2 separate regions of the Homo sapiens genome follow, and region 1 is linked to region 2. Evidence: promoter capture Hi-C in 16 types of primary human blood cells and fetal thymus (Javierre and others, 2016). All regions are on one chromosome and are shown on one strand. The core of a region is centred on a gene start or on the middle of the fragment in contact, and the rest is flanking DNA. Distances in the headings are between cores, read along the strand shown. Region 1 overlaps TRMT61B (tRNA methyltransferase 61B). Region 2 holds the start of SUPT7L (SPT7 like, STAGA complex subunit gamma).

Region 1 (2,970 bases), core at 254-2,753, 1.2 Mb after region 2:
TGGGCTCAAGCAATCCTCCTACCTCAGCCTCCAAAGTAGCTGGGACCACAGGCATGTACCACCATGCCCAACTAATTTTTTTTTTATTTTTTATAAAGATGGGGTCCTGCTATGTTGGCCAGGTTAGTCTTGAACTCCTAGCCTCCAGCAATCCTCCTGCCTTGGCCTCACAAAGCACTGAGATTACAGGTGTGAGTGACGGCACCTGCCCCCTCACTTTTTTTTTGAGATAGGATCTTACACTGTTGCCCAGGCTGGAGTGCAGTGGCAAGATCATGGCTCGCTGCAGCCTCAAACTCCTGGGCTCAAACAATCCTCCCATCTCAGCCTCCTGCGTAGCTGGGACCACAAGTGTGTGCCAGCATACCTGGCTAATTTTTTATTTTTTGTAGAGACAAGGTCTCCCTATGTTGCCCCGGCTGGTCTCAAACTTCTGGGCTCAAATGATCCTCCTGCCTCAGCCTCCCAAAATATTGAGATTACAAGTGTGAGCCACTGCACTCTGCCTCTGGTCATATTTTTAATACTAAGATGGAATTATGTAATTCTAACAGGGAGATCAGTTTTTAAACATCAGTGAAGGTATTCCCTCAAGCATTTCAAAGTTGTAGAAGTTGAAGTAAAACTATCTCCAGCCATTACTTGGAAGCTATAAAGAGAAGTCAACACCTAACAAATTTAGTACTTAAATTCCTCCTTAGAGTGGAACAATGTGACTTTTATCTGTAACAAATGGAAAGGCAGAAAGTATACTAAATATGCATATTTATAACTTCATGAAATGTAACTAATCTCTCCTGATTTTGTCTAATGGGGAGAAAGGAGACACGGGGAAGCAAGATAAAATTACGAAAGTCTTTTAGTTTTCTTCAAGAGCTTATGATACCATGGCCAGGAGCGGTCGTTCTCACCTGTAATCCCAGCACCCTCAAGGGAGGATCCCTTGAGCCTAGAGAAGTTTGAGACCAGTCTGGGCAAGTTAGGGCGACCCCAACTCTACAAAAAAAATTTTTGATTAGCTAGGCATAGTGGCATGCACCTGTGGTCCCAGCTACTCAGGAGGTTGAGGTGCGAGGATTGTTGGAGCCTGGGAGGTTCAGGCTACAGTAAGAGGTGATTGAGCCACTGCACTCTAGCCTGGGTGACATAGCAAGACCTTGTCTTTAAACAAAAAAAGCTTATTATACCTCAGTAGCCTAAGTTTCTGAGGAAAGTTTTTTTAGTCCCTGGGTAGACCGTTTAAAATACAGACTGGATTCCTACTAAGAACCTTCTAATGGTCCTTCACTACAAATGGAATAAAATACTCAAACCACACCTCATACGGGGTCCCTCATCTGACCCATTGAGGCCACAACAGAAACTCTGCAGCATTCCTCCCTTTGCAAGAACAATTCTCTTCCTAGATCTGTTTACAAGGCAAGCTCTTCCTTATTTAGGTTTCCTATCAAGTGTACCTCCTTGGAGACCATCTCTCCTCACCTGACATAAAGTATGCTCATACCCCAGGTCACCCAAAACAATGTCATTGTTAATATATTTGTCTTCATGACACTTAACACTACTGGAAATGACCTTATTCTTTCATTTACTTGTTTGTTCTTTGTCACCCCTTCTAGAATGTAAGGTCTATGTTGAGGGTGAGGACTGCAGTTCAACACTATACTTCCCTAAACAGTGCCTTGAGTATGGAAGGCAGTCAATTTGCTGAATAAATAACGAATGAATCCTGATCTGGAGAAAGGAGGAGGAGTTGTGTTACACAGGAACATTCTACTCAAGGACTGTGACTAAGGATTGAAATAATCTGCTAGCAATAGATGATTAGCATAAGCTTCAAACTAGGGCTGGGCGCGGTGGCTCCCGCCTGTAATCCCAGCACTGGGAGGCCGAGGTGGGCGGATCACTTGAGGCCACGAGTTGAAGACCAGCCTGGGCAATAAGGCGAAACCCCGTCTCTACAAAAATTAGCCCGGGGTGGTGGTGCATGCCTGTAGTCCCAGGTACTCAGGAGGCTGTGGTGGGAGAATCGCTTGAACCCGGGAGGCAGAGGTTGCAGGGAGCCAAGATCGCAACACTGCACTCCAGCCTGGATGACAGAGTGAGAACTTGTCTTAAAAAAAAGACTGAAACTAGGCTTTAGGCAGTTAACTTTTTAATAAAGAATAGTCATTTTATGTTTGGTGTTGAATGTTAGCTATTGTAATATAAAACTCTATTTCTTCCCTAAAAGGGGAAAAGCACCGTAATGTACCTATTGTTAATATACTCTTGTAACATGATTATTGAATATTAAAATATCATCATAGTAGTACTAAAAAATTGTTCCCTAAGAGTTCAACATTCTCTTGAGTCCTGAAGTTATAAACTTAAGAGTAATGGGGAACAAAATTAGTACTTATTATGTACGTAGTGAGTTCACATCACCCTAACAGAAAGTTGAGCTATTATCCACATTTTACAAATAAGGGACTCGAGACTCCTAAGTTAAAATTAAAATCTAGCCGTTCCCTAATGCTAATTTTCATCATGATATGTAAAAGTTATAACCATTGGTTTATTTTAAAAGCCTGAGTACAATAAAAAATCCAAACGTTCTGAGATGTCTTTGAATACATTAATCAGGACTGAGTACTGCATCTGTCTTTGCCCCTCCTGAAACCAATACACACCTTATCTCCATCGCATTACCTTTGGGAATGTTATGGCAGTCCCTCTTTTCATCAATACTACATAGTCTTCCAAGGCTGGCCTCCTCAGCATGTACTGCTTACCGAAGGAACTCCTCAGTATCTGGCCGGGGAACTTCCCCACGATCTTGCCGAACGGGACTGCCCCCCAGTTACTATTTAAGAGTCCGAAGTTGTTCAACCTAAATAATTTCTTAAATTTTGTTTCTCCCTCCCCAGTCTCAGCTAAAATCAGTTCCCCAGCCTGAAAGGGTCTCTCTCTGGAAGTTGAACAAGAAGG
Region 2 (3,019 bases), core at 112-2,611:
TCAAAGACTGATAATGTGAGATCCTTGCCCTGAAGTGAGGAAGAGAAACAGAAGCAGAATATTTCAATATGAAACATGGTAAGTACTGTTCTAGAGGTATATGGACCTGGGGTACTGGAAGCACAAAGGAGGAGCTTCCTGGGTGAAATGACTACCTTTGTTCTAACAACATTATACTACTCAGTTTCTTGAGAATGCTGTACATTTCCACAATTGACACTTTCAGCTGTGAACTCTGCCAGAAATGCTCTGCCAACCTTGCACATCCCTGGCAGACTCATATTCATTTTTAAGTACAGCATAAGTCCCCACCGTCCGTCACTTCACCAGTGCATCTCCCTTTCTCTATTCTCACAGTGCTTTGCAAGTCTATGTCACAGCAGTTATCCTTGGATTTTAATTAGTACTTATCGCAATAGATTTTTTCTGCCCGTCTATTTCTTATGGCTGTGGTCTTGTTACAGGGCCAGGCACACAGAAATATCTGGCATTTGTTGAATGTTTACTATATGCCAGACTTCACCTTTTTTGTTTGTTTCTTTTTTGAGACAGGGTTTCACTCTGTAGCCCAGGCTGGAGTGCAGTGGTGCAGTCATGGTTCACTGCAGCCTCAACCTCCTGGGACCAAGCAATCCTCCCACCTCAGCCTCTGGAGTAGCTGGGACTACAGGCGCGCACCATCAAACCTGGATTTTTTCTTTTTTTTTTTTTTTTTTGGCGAGACAGGGTCTCGCCATGTTGCCCAGCCTCCTCTGGAACTCCTGGGCTCAAGCAATCCTCCCGCCTCAGCCTCCCAAAATGTTGGGATTACAGGCATGAGCCACCGGTCTGGCTGGCCTTTATTGTTTGATTCAATTCTTCCAACAACCCTATGAGGCTAATAATCTTATCCCCATTTTTCAGAGTGAGGGCTGAGGCCTAGTGTCTTGCCCAATGTCACAAATGGCGAGGTCAAAAATCGACAGTCTCCAGAGTCTGCTCTCTTAACCACTTAACTATTCTGCCTTAATAATTTCAGAAAAAAAATAAATGAATGAACGAAATAACAAAAAAGTCGCCCTCTTCCCTTACTTTACCGAAAGGAGCACGAAGAACAGGCACGGAGCCCAAGGAATGCCCAAGTCCCTCCAGGGGTTTCCTCGGTCACGGTCCGCCGGCGCAGGCGCCAATCACAGGGTCCTGAGGTCGCCTGACGTTCAGGGCAGCCGGAAGACGGGGAGGTCTGGACCTGAACCGAGACAAGGAGGTACCACACTATTCACTGCTGCGTCGCAGAGCGGGCTGGGCGGCTGTCTGGACCTCGAGAGGCCTGAGGCAAGGATCGCGTCAGACCCCGAAAGCTGGTTTGTTGATTAGTGATCTAAGACCGCCGGAAGCGCTTCTTCTCAATCAAGCTATGCAACAGGAAGTCATTACGATCCCGTTGTAACCTCTAAATATGTCCCCGTTCTGCACAGCATCCCGATAACCGTTTTGTTTTTCTCATATTATGACCTTCTCATGTTAGCACCACTTCGCAACGCTCCAGGTCGTGAAGGAGCAACTTCACCATCGCCGCCTACAGACGCCACTGGGAGCTTGGGAGAGTGGGACGTGGACAGGAACGTAAAGACCGAAGGGTGGGTTTCGAAGGAGCGGATTTCGAAGTTGCACCGGTTGAGGATGGCTGACATTCTCTCTCAGTCAGAGACCCTGGCGTCGCAAGACCTCAGTGGGGACTTCAAGAAGCCAGCTCTGCCGGTGTCCCCAGCGGCGCGGAGTAAGGCCCCGGCCAGCAGTTCTTCAAACCCTGAGGAGGTACAGAAGGAAGGGCCCACTGCGTTGCAGGACTCCAATTCTGGGGAGCCCGACATCCCTCCTCCTCAGCCGGACTGCGGTGATTTTAGGAGTCTACAGGAGGAGCAGTCGCGCCCCCCGACAGCGGTTTCTTCCCCTGGCGGTCCAGCCCGGGCTCCCCCCTACCAAGAGCCTCCATGGGGTGGCCCTGCCACAGCCCCCTACAGCTTAGAGACCCTGAAGGGCGGCACTATCCTTGGCACCCGTAGCTTGAAAGGGACGAGTTACTGCCTTTTCGGGAGGCTGTCTGGCTGCGACGTGTGCCTGGAGCACCCTTCGGTGTCTCGGTACCACGCAGTGCTGCAGCACAGGGCGTCCGGCCCTGACGGAGAATGCGACAGCAACGGGCCGGGCTTCTACCTCTACGATCTGGGAAGCACCCATGGCACTTTTCTCAACAAAACTCGCATCCCACCTCGCACCTACTGTCGAGTCCACGTTGGGCATGTTGTTCGCTTTGGAGGCAGCACCCGGCTCTTTATCCTGCAGGTAGGTAGAAAAACCTAGAATTGAAATTTCGGGTTCATTGGACTGCGTTCTTGTGCTTCTTAAGCTTTGGATGAGGAAGAAGAATCTCCCACTCAGCGATTACGAAAGTGAAGGAATCAAGTCTGGCCTATCATCTTCAGACGGCTGTACACATTGCTATATTTCTGAAAGTCATGTTCACAATCCCGAACTCTAAAATAACTTGTTTGGCCAGGCGCGGTGGCTCGCGCCTGTAATCCCAACACTTTGGGAGGCCCAGGCGGGAGGATCGCTTTAGCCCAGGAGTTTGAGAGGAGGCTGGGCAACATGGCAAGACCCTGTCTCTTAAAAAAAAAAAAAAAAATTAGCCAGGCATCATGGTCCCAGCTGCTCAGGAGGCTGAGGTGGGAGGATCACCTGAGCCCAGGAGGTCAAGGCTGCAGTGAGGTGTATTACAGCCACTGCACTCCAGTCCAGCCTAGGCGACAGAGCAAGACCCTGTCTCTAAATAAATAAATAACCTTTTTTTCCTTGGTTCATCAGGGACCAGAGGAAGACCGAGAGGCAGAATCCGAGTTAACAGTAACACAGTTGAAGGAATTGCGCAAGCAGCAGCAAATATTGTTGGAGAAGAAGATGCTAGGAGAAGACTCAGATGAAGAAGAGGAAATGGATACCTCTGAAAGGAAGATAAATGCTGGTAGCCAAGATGATG

The links. Contacts are between HindIII fragments. The CHiCAGO score rates a contact against its expected background, and 5 or more counts as called.
Region 1: a fragment that was not itself captured here is called in contact with the fragment with the promoter of SUPT7L in region 2 in 1 of 17 cell types (monocytes); the score reaches 7.8 in monocytes.

Annotation. Positions count from the first base shown.
Region 1 is chr2:28,866,888-28,869,857 of GRCh38, forward strand. TRMT61B (tRNA methyltransferase 61B) reads right to left here. Exons shown (of 7, transcript NM_017910.4): 1 at 2,692-2,970. Among named protein-coding and RNA genes, the nearest start is that of TRMT61B, 1.9 kb to the right of the region's middle. RefSeq lists enhancers at 1,416-1,931, 1,932-2,446. The HindIII fragment of the contact is 657 bases long and covers 1,176-1,832 here.
Region 2 is chr2:27,662,253-27,665,271 of GRCh38, forward strand. SUPT7L (SPT7 like, STAGA complex subunit gamma) reads right to left here and starts at 1,362. Exons shown (of 6, transcript NM_014860.3): 1 at 1,077-1,362; 2 at 1-29. SLC4A1AP (solute carrier family 4 member 1 adaptor protein) reads left to right here and starts at 1,637. Exons shown (of 14, transcript NM_018158.3): 1 at 1,637-2,325; 2 at 2,848-3,019. The coding sequence starts at 1,663. The HindIII fragment of the contact is 6,150 bases long and covers 1-2,387 here.